Linked DNA regions of Homo sapiens: region 2 is linked to region 1. The links are contacts of gene promoters, found by promoter capture Hi-C in blood cells and fetal thymus (Javierre and others, 2016). All regions are on one chromosome and are shown on one strand. The core of a region is centred on a gene start or on the middle of the fragment in contact, and the rest is flanking DNA. Distances in the headings are between cores, read along the strand shown. Region 1 holds the start of PLPBP (pyridoxal phosphate binding protein). Region 2 has its middle 11 kb from the start of TACC1.

Evidence for each region. The method cuts DNA at HindIII sites, captures the fragments that hold promoters and counts their contacts. A CHiCAGO score of 5 or more calls a contact.
Region 2: a fragment that was not itself captured here is called in contact with the fragment with the promoter of PLPBP in region 1 in 1 of 17 cell types (activated CD4 T cells); the score reaches 5.3 in activated CD4 T cells.

Annotation. Positions count from the first base shown.
Region 1 is chr8:37,758,607-37,763,998 of GRCh38, forward strand. PLPBP (pyridoxal phosphate binding protein) reads left to right here and starts at 4,039. Exons shown (of 8, transcript NM_007198.4): 1 at 4,039-4,152. The coding sequence starts at 4,054. It overlaps LOC124901934 (a long non-coding RNA gene), which reads right to left and starts at 4,658. Exons shown (of 2, transcript XR_007060889.1): 1 at 4,321-4,658; 2 at 1-4,207. RefSeq lists enhancers at 3,588-3,667, 3,768-4,227, 3,805-4,099, 4,408-4,467 and a silencer at 3,727-4,047. The HindIII fragment of the contact is 3,991 bases long and covers 3,422-5,392 here.
Region 2 is chr8:38,773,807-38,778,831 of GRCh38, forward strand. It overlaps a transcript of TACC1 not described here. Among named protein-coding and RNA genes, the nearest start is that of TACC1, 11 kb to the right of the region's middle. The HindIII fragment of the contact is 2,473 bases long and covers 586-3,058 here.

The sequences.
Region 1 (5,392 bases), core at 2,789-5,288:
GCAATGCAGCAAACACAGTATTGAGGATACATACCTCTACAAAAATGTTGTGTAGAAAATAACCTGGTTTAAAGAAAGAAAAGAAAAGAAAAGAAGCCAGGCACGGTGGTTCACACCTGTAATCCTAGCACTTTGGGAGGCTGAGGTGGGTGGATCACCTGAGGTCGGGAGTTCAAGACCAGCCTGACCAACATAGAGAAACCCCATCTCGACTAAAAATAGAAAATTAACCGGGCATGGTGGTGCATGCCTGAAATCCCAGCTACTTGGGAGGCTAAGGCAGGAGAATCACTTGAACCTGGGAGGTAGAGGATGCAGTGAGCCAAAATCACGCCACTGCACTCCAGCCTGGGCAACAAGAGCAAAACTCTATCTCCAAAAAAAAGAAAAGAATCTGATTTGGCCCTGTTGAGAGGAACTGTCCAGTTCTGGTCTCCAATTTTAAAAATGAAAAAAATTTGAAGAAGCTAGAAAGAAAATGTTAAAACCAAAAAGAAAAAAAAAGTAATTAAGAAATAAAGCTCATAGGTTGATGCCAGAAAAGGCAGAAGGGACATTTAATGACTTCACGATTATAAAAGTTACATACTGGTAGCTAAAAAGAGGAAATTCACTTGAATAAAGGAGGATTTGTAAAGAATTTACTTAAGATCAGGCTTGCTAAATTTTCAAATGGGGAGGAGTAGTTACTTGCAAATAGAAAATAAATATTCTTCTCTGATGGTCTTCAGAAATTGTGAAGACTCTGTGCTGTTTGGGATGGTTTAAATGTCATTCTTTCTGTATGAAACCTCCCTAAGTCTTCCCTAGGTCTAGGGTTCTACTATCTCTATAGACATTTCAAAGGCCAGATGTGATGGCATGTGTGCCAAGGGCTTGCTGTCATGGGCTACTCTACCTGAATTCATTTAAACTGGGATGGGACATGGGCATTATTTCTCCGTTTCTCTTTAGAGCTAAGTAACCAGGCAACAGTAATTTTCTATTTTACTTTTTACTTTTTTATCCCCCTAAAAGACTCACAGTAGGCTCAGAAGGAAACAATTTTTAAATCCATATATGTTTTTCTCATAATTTGGATTTATTCCAGACTATGAGGGTGTTTTAAAAGCTTGATGGCATTGATGGTGAATAAGTATACTAGATTTTAGATTATTTATAAAATCTGTTTCTCTGGGCATTTGGCTTTTTAATCTTTCTCTTTTCCCCTTGGTCCTTGCAAATTATTGGAGCAATTTAAAGACAATTACTGGTGATGAAATGATTTTGGACTTGTATTTTTCAAGGATTAGGTAGTAGGGGAGGATGAAAGGTTAAATTGGATGGTTGATGTCCCAGGAAGAGGAAGAGAAGAAATTAAAAAAGCAAATAAGGAAAAAAAGGGACAAAGTGAAATAAAATTAATTCAAAAGTACAACTAAGAAGAAATTGGAATGTGAAATGACCATGGGACTGGGGGCACCATGATCTTTTTGTCTCCATTTCCATTTTCATAAGACCACAGAATGTCAGAGATGAAAAGCGAGCATATTGGAAGTAAATCGGCAGTAAAGCCTGTCTTACTCAGCCTGGTCTCTCTCAGGGTTCTTTACAGAGTAACGCCTCAGTAAATGTTCACTGAATGGATAAGGGGGTGGGAGGATGACCTTGCCTTGTAGTTCAAAGAATAGAGGTCCCTGGCTGGGCACGGTGGCCCACGACTGTAATCCCAGCACTTTGGGAGGCCGAGGCGGGTGGATCACAAGGTCAGGAGTTCGAGACCAACCTGGCTAACATAGTGAAACCCCATCTGTACTAAAAATACAAAAATTAGGCGGGCGTGGTGATGCACGCCTGTAGTCCCAGCTACTCGGGAGGCTCAGGCAGGAGAATCACTTGCACCCAGGAGGCAGAGGTTGCAGTGAGCCGAGATCGCGTCACTGCACTCCAGCTTGAGTGACAGAGCAAGACTTCGTCTCAAAAAACACAAAAAAGAATAGAGGCCCAATCTAGTAAATGAAGCTACAACTACTTGTTGTCATAGTGACGTAACACCTGGATTATACATTCCCTAGATCTGTGAGGTATTTATGGTTTTAAAATGTTTTCCAAATAGCACATTATTTGAAGTGTTTCATCTCACCCAATCCTTCCTCTACACATCCCATCACCATGATCCCCTCTGTCCTCCCCATCACTCACTGCTGGCTCGCTCCTTCCCACCTGTGTCTCTACAGCAAGCATCTATTATGCTCACACCACAAAGGGCCATTCTGGTCATTTTAAATTTTTTTATCATTTTGGTTGGAGTACAGATGTATCAAGTCTAGAGACATTTTATCTGAACACAATTACTCCTAATGTTGGCAGTCCTAGTTTGCAGATAACCCAGTTAATGTGTACCAGGGTAAATGACCAGAGACTTCCCAAAAAGAAGTCCCTTATTTTAAGGATCTGAGGTTCTGCCTAATGTGACTTTCCCAGAGCAGAAGATGTGAAATTCCATCTCTGTTCCTGGGAGTCTGGGGAAAAACTGTGAGAGGAGAGAGTAAGAATATTGCCCCTTCTTTCCGGAAAGCTCTAATAAACCCCATCACCTCAAGACAAGACCACCTGAAGAACAAACATTAGCCATTTCTCTAATATAATAGCATCCCACTTCATTAAGTTGAATTAATGTTTGAGAAACTTTCAACAGAAATTGCAGCCAAGAGTGCTTTCCTTAACAAAATTGATCTCCTTCTCCTTGCCCGTAGCACCTACTATTTCACCACCTGACTATGTAGCATTCTGTATTATTATTTGTATGGCCTGGCTCCTCATCAAGTTTATAACCATATTGCCCACAGAAGGGGACTCAAGAATCAAACTCAGGGCGTTGTGGTGCCCGTTTGTAGTCCCAGCTATTCTGTGAGGCGGAGGTGGGAGGATTGCTTGGGCCCACGAGTCCCAGATAATCTGGGCAACATAGCGAGACCCCATCTCAAAAAAAGAATCTAACTGAATGTGCTGAGCTCCTGCTAGACCATCTAAAGCTGCCTGTGGGCTGGGCGCGGTGGCTCGCACCTGTAGTCCCAGCTACTGGGGAGGCTGAGGCAGGAGAATCGCTTGAACCCGGGAGGTGGAGGTTGCAGTGAGCCCAGATCGGGCCACCGCACTCCAGCCTGGGTGACAGAGCGAGACTGTCTCAATAATAATAATAGTAATAATCATGCTGCCTGTGTCCCCTGATGAGACAGCACTGGCCGCAGGTGGCCGCTAACCTCTCGAAATAGGGATGGCCCGAATTGAGACATATGCAAGTCAACACTACACCGGGTTTCAGAAACACATACGATTTTCAAAAGAATTAAAATATCGCATTTAGTTTTTCTATTGATTGCATGTTGAAATCTTACTTTGGATATATTGGATTAAATAAAGTATATCATTAAAATTTTTAAGCTTATGTGCCTATGAGAAACTTCCAAATTACACAGTTGGATGGCGTTATATTTCTCTTGGACAGCAGTGGTCTGAAAGATGACAAAAATCACGATACGTTTGAATCACGCCATGTCTTTAGGGAAAAGAAGAAAGAAGAGTTTCCTTTCGTATCGCTTAGGGGTTCCTCGCAAGAACCATCTGACAGAGAAAAGCCCTGGCTCCCGCCCCAGTGGCTTCTAATTCTGGTCCCCGCGCCCAGAAAGCCGGGAACGGGCAAGCCTGGAAAGGCGTTTTGAAAGGAAACAGGATCCCCCGAGTATAGGATGCGTTTCTGCCTCACAAAAGTCCCTTGGGGGTGGGGGGACGGCAGCGGCTGAGGCGCAGGAAAGAGGAGAGCACACGGGGAGTGGCCCTTGGAACCAGGCGCGCAAAACCTCAGCCCCTAGGCTCCATTTCCAGGTTCGCGGGTGACCTCCCCAAGATGGCCGCCGCCTGGGGGCGGGCCTCCACGCTGCACGGGTGTTGATTGGGTGAGACGACTCAATGATGAGCAATGATTGGTTCACACGGCGCAAGCTGGGCGGAACCGGAAGATGGTGTGAGCCACGGGCTGCCGGGGGCCTGGGGCTCGGCGTCGGTCCCCGGGGGATGTGGAGAGCTGGCAGCATGTCGGCCGAGCTGGGAGTCGGGTGCGCATTGCGGGCGGTGAACGAGCGCGTGCAGCAGGCTGTGGCGCGGCGGCCGCGGGTGAGGAAGGAGGCTGCGTGGGGACGGTGGGCGGCCGCCTTGAGAAGAGGGACACCTGCGTGGGAATGGGTCGTCACGGTGACGCAGAGGGGTCTCCCAGAGAGGCGGGACTGGTCGGCCGCCTAGGGCCACCGAAAGGCTAGCGAAGGGTTTCCCCAGCCTCCTTACCTTGAGTCTGTTAGGTTTTCTGGAGATTGGCTTCGTTGGAGCAGAGGGTACCGCTACCTCGGGAAAATGACTTAGTGCCTAGGTGTCGTGGCCACTTGCGCACCGCGTCGTTTCGGGGTCGATAGCCTTGGCGGATGCGAGGGGGGCCAGGCCTGTGCCCACGGATGGTAAGGGGAGACGGGGGTACAAGAGCACCCCGCGGAGGCCAGAGACGCCCGAGATCGCGTGTGTGGCAGCGTCTCACCTGCTAAGTGCCCAAGAAATGCCAGTGCCGCCCGGAGGCCGAGGTGAGGGTGGACTGGCCGGACTTCGCTGGCATCAGAGCGGCACTTGTTTATGGGGCAGGAGGGAGAAGTCCAATCCCAAGCCGGTTAAGGGGAGCTTTCGTCTTTTGTGTATATATATATTACATCCTCTTGGACTTTGATTAGACCAAGAATCAAAATCTGCCCACCTCAGTGCAAGTTTAAGCTGAATGGTGTGGAATGAGACGGACCTTAACAGAGAGGTCACAGGTTTCTCTGATCGAGCATTTATGCTGGCTGAAGACAAGACCTGTATTATAGTCTTTCTTTGACTATTCCTTAGACGTTACCTTGAACAAGTCAGGTAACTATTCCGGCCCTCAGCTCTGAAAGCTCTGAGATCTCTTCTGATGTTAATATTCTGTGATTCTCGGTGATTCTCCAAGAAAAATCTAGGGCTTCCCCTAATAAACATCACCTTGGAGGTTCTCTCAGGGAAACTCTCAGGCAGATGGGCTGCCTGTTCGGGTAACTCTCTGGAAAGCGTCAATCATCAGCATACTCCCAGTAGTCACGACTTGGACTCAAACGAGGCTGGTTACGCATCGCTGTGGAAGGAAGGAAGAGGAGACATTTTTCTAATTGATCTGACTCCGTCACGTCCTTGAGAACACTGTGATTCTGTGAAAACTTCAGGGGATGATGGATACAAGAAGACTAAATCGTGCAAGGATAAACGAATCTCTTCTCTTACTGTTTCTATGTGGATTGGGTGGCAGCAGAACGCATAGAACCCCCGCTCTTTGTATAGTGGTCGTGAGAGGATG
Region 2 (5,025 bases), core at 572-3,071, 1.0 Mb after region 1:
ATTTCAATTCCAGATGTAAAAAGTACTTTGAAAAAGAGGGAAAAAAGGGTATATCTAGCTCACCAACATTTTAACAGTGGCTATTTATGAAAGACAATACTATGGGCAGGTTTTTCTTTCTTCTTTGAACTGCCTATGTAGTCAAAAATTCACTTTTTCAGAGACAAGGATGCTTAACATGGTCTTCTAGGCTGTCATGCCTTGTGCCTCTCCCACTTCACCAGCCTAAGCCCCTCTCCTCCCTCCAGCAGCTGCTCTTCAACCACGCTTACTCAAAACTGGAGGCTGCTTCTGTCCTTAGTGTCTTGATGAAGGAACGCTGTTACCCTACACTTCACCCAGGCAGCTTCTGCCTATCCCTGAGGCTTCAGTCTGTCACTCCTTCAGAGCAACCTCCCTTGACATCTCCACCGATGCCGTCCACCAGCCATTCTCAGAGCCCCCTGCAGTTCTTATATTTCATACATGACAATTTATATATTACATATTTATTTGTTGGCTTACTAAGCTCACTAATATGCAAGTTCTATGAGGGCAGGAACTGGGTCTCTTTTGTTCAACACAGTGTTCAGCAGAGGCTGGCAAAGCTTGGTCATTTGTCAAATTTGTGGAATGAATGAATGAATGAATGAATGAATGAACATATGTATTATTTTGCCTTAAACACTAAAGGTATTTAAAAATACATTTTTTATTATTGTTTTGAGACAGAGTCTCACTCTATAGCCCAGGCTGAAGTGCAGTGGTAGCATCACAGCTCACTGCAACCTTGAATTCCTGGGCTCAAATGATCCTCCCATCTTGGCCTCCCAAGTAGCTAGGACTACAGGTGTGCATTGCCACACCAGGCTAATTTTTTTTTGTTTTTGTTTTTGAAGGGATGGGGTCTCACTATGTTGCCTAGGCTATAAAAATATTTTTAAAGGCCAGCCACGGTGGCTCACGCCTGTAATCCCAGCACTTTGGGAGGCCGAGGCGGGCGGATCACGAGGTCAGGAGTTCGAGACCAGCCTGTCCAACATGGTGAAACCCCCTCTCTACTAAAAATACAAAAATTAGCTGGGCATGGTGGCACATGCATGTAATCCCAGCTACTCGGGAGGCTGAAGCAGGAGAATCGCTTGAACCCCAGAGGCAGAGGTTGCAGTGAGCGAAGATCGCACCACTGCACTCCAGCCTGGGTGACACGGTGAGACTCCGTCTCAAAAAAAAAAAAAAAAAAATGAAAACCAAAAACTTTTAAAACAAAGTACAAGACTATTTGTATGTATTTGCTTTATAAAACAATTTACAGTGCCTTTTAAAATGAGGTGAATTTTGGGGAGAAGTCATATCTCTATTATACATACCAAGTGGGCATATCTTTTGGGGCTGGGGGGAAACTCCAGAATTCATACCTTCATACCTTCCTTGCAAGGGTTATGAATCCTAGTTGTGCACTTTGGTGCCTGAGTAAACCTTCTTCCAAAAAGAATGATATTCGACCCAGTGATCTTTGGCAAAGGTCCTTTCCAGCTAAAAATTTCTGTGGTTCTATGAGATCTGAGATGGATGCTTAGGTTAGGAGTCAGTGATTATCTTAGTCTGTTAAGGCTACTATAAGGATATAATTGCCTGGGTGGTTTATAAACCAGTCATTTATTTCTGGAAGTTCTGGAGGATGGAGGTCCCCATGATTAAGGGACCAGCAGATTCCACATCTGGTGAAGGCTGACCTCCTGGATGTCTTCTCCCTGTGTCCTCATTTGGCAGAAGAAGGGAGAGGGAGCTGTCTGGGGTCTCTTTTATAAGGGCGCTGACCCCAGGAAGAACCCTCATGACCTAATCACCTCCCAAAGGCCCCACTTCTTAATATTCTCACATTGGAGTTTAGGTTTTAACCTATGAATTTTGGGGGGATATAAACAGTCAGTCTGTAGCAGTGATTTATCATTTGTTCAGAAAATAATGTAAAACAAATATATTCTGCTCAGTGTCTATGCCTTGGCCAAAGGAAACAGAAAACACATAAGATATTCCTATATCATACATGATGAGGTACAGGGAAGACCGGTAAGGATAAACTCGCTCTTGCTTGTCATAGTTCTATAAAATAATACAACAAAATAACTTGACTAATTGAGCCCATAAGAAAACAATTTCTAAAAATATTTTGTGTGTGTGCTAGAAATCGTCACTAGCACCAGTTAGTGTTGAAGCCAAAGAACAATGATTAATTCACTTATAGGATTTGGGTCAGTTATTATTTATTATTGTTATTATTTATCCTTAGAATTGGGCAAATATTGGAGTTATACAATCATATTATTTCAAGGAAATCTCCCCAAAGAAAATAATAACCTTCATCAATATGTAAATCCATTCTACTTGGCCTTTGTGAAATCTAAATATTGACTCCCTCCTTCTTCAACGTTTTTGTCCACATCAGTCATCTTTAAAAATGCAACTGCCTAATTTCTAGAAAGTCAGTATCACAGCTCAAGTCATTACGGCAGAAGGAAGGGTAGTCTCAGTCCTGTTTTTAGGATAATTAGGACATCATCCACGGGGCAGGCTTGAGTCTTTTGGTTCGGGAATTTTCTGCCCTGAGAAAAGACATCATTGAGATACAGGTAGAGTGTTCCTTATCCAAAATGCTTAGGACCAGAAGTGTTTCAGATTTTAGATTTTGGAATATTTGCATATACATAATGAGATAGCTTGGGGATGGGACCCAAGTCTAAACATGAGATTCATTATGTTTCATATACACCTTCTACACATAGCCTGAAGGTAATTTTAAACAGCAGTTGTAATAATTTTGTGCATGAAACAAAGTTTTGACTGTGTTTTGACTGTGACTGGCCACATGAAATTAGGTGTGGAATTTTCCACTGTGGTGTCATGTTGACAAGCAAAACGTTTTGGATTTTAGATTGTTGGATTAGGGATGCTCAACCTGTGTAGATTTATCATTTTTAAAAATGCTTCCATCTTTGAAGGAACTTTCATGTAATCCTGTTCAGAAGAATGTAGAACGAAATTTAAGGCAGGTTCTTCCCATACCTTCATCTAAGGAAGCTTAGATGCTGAAATCCCCCAGAGGAGGTTGTAATGTGAGGGTGGAGATGAGGCTGCTGTTACAAAGGGGCCCAGTGACACAGTCTGATAAAGAAGATAGACTTTTAGGCTGGGCACGGTGGCTCACGCCTGTAATTCCAGCACTTTGGGAGGCTGAGGCAGGCGGACCACCTGAGGTCAGGAGTTCGATACCAGCCTGGCCAACATGGTGAAACCCCATGTCTACTAAAAATACAAAAATCAGCTGGGTGTGGTGGCACGAGCCTGTAATCCCAGCCACTCTGGAGGCTGAGACAGGAGAATTGCTTGAACCCGGGAGGCAGAGGTTGCAGTGAGCCGAGATCACGCCACTGCACTTCAGCCTGGGCAACAGAGTGAGACTCCATCTCAAAAAAAAAAAAAAAAGAGAAGATAGACTTTTCTCTCTCATGGAACAGTCCTCAGGCAGCAATTAGTCTAGGGCCGCAGGCTGCTCTGCTCCCCAGTCAGCCTGGTGCGGGTTCTGTCTGTTCTGTGGCTCTATCCTGTCCAGAGTGTGGTCCTCACACAGCAGAAGTTGTGACACGCAGTTCACAACTTTTCGGCCGGGAGAGGCTGGACATGCAGTTTTCTTTTTAAAGACATTGGCCCAGGGGCCAGGCACAATAGCTCATGTCTATAATCCCACTGCTTCTGTAGGCCAAGGGGTGAGAATTGCTTGAGTCCAGGAATTTGAGACCAGCCTGGGCAACACAGCAAGACCCTGTTTCTACAAACAAAACAAAACAAAACAAAAAACATTAGCTGGACATGGTGGTGTGCACCTGGATTTCCAGCTACTCAAGAGGCTGAGGTGGGAGGATTGCTAGAGCCCAGGAGCTCGAGGCTATAGTGAGATATGATTACACTACTGCATTTCAGCCTGGACAATAGAGCAAAACTCTGTCTCTAAAAGAGAAAAAAAAGACACTGCCCCAAATTTGCACTTACCCCTTGTGCTCACATCCCATGGGTGAGAACTGAGTCACAGGCCACACCTAGTTGTAGAGAAGGAAACGTGGCCTCTTGCTGTGTGACCATGTGCTCAGCAAAAATTCAGAGGGTTCTTTTGCTAGAAGAAATAAGGAAATGATGGATACAGATGGATACAGGATGTGGGGTGAGGGAATTAGGCTCTACCATGGTGATCTTGTGGAAATTCAAAGAGTAGAGGTGCATAGACACACAATGTTAAAGAAGCATTATAGTTTTTCTTTTTTATCTTTGTGTGTGTGCATGTGTGTAGAGATGGGCTCTCACTGTGTGGTCCAGGCTGGTCTCAAACTCCTGGGCTCAAGCGATCCTCCTGCCTTCGTCTCCCAAAGTGTTGGGATTACAATCATGAGCCACCACACCTGGCCTTTTGCTTTTTTATCTTAATAATTAAAATTGTGTGTGTGTGTGTGTGTGTGTATGTGTGTGTTTACAATGGGTACAGAAGGAACAGAGCCATGAATTATGTTTCACAATCTGTGTAGGAGATATCTTTTGACAGTTTTATCCAGTTTCCAACAGTTAAATATTTTTGTTTCCTCTAAGAAGACAGAGGTCAGTGTGACCCCCTCGCTCCATAAATGGACATTTCACTTACTGAGTTGAGGCCAGCTGAACCACTCCTGAGCCACAGGCAGGAATCTCTTTTGTTCTCTGGGCAGAGCTGAATTTACTATGAAGCTGAGGAAGCCTAAGCTTCAGTCCCCTCCCTTGCATGGGCCCCTTCATACTAGTGTGGCCCTAGCACTGTGTTCATGGGGTCCTTTAGCATTTTTCTTAAAGAGTGCTTCCCCAGTTTTTAGGCTTCCTGCTTCACAAAATCAGGCCTTGGCAACCTGTTTGATGCCTCCTTTCTTTGCTGAGCCTTGCTACTTTTTCCCAGATGGGGAGAGGCTCCTGGGTGTCATTTCCCTCATCAACATAGTTTCTTGGAAGAAACCACCCTAAAAGGAA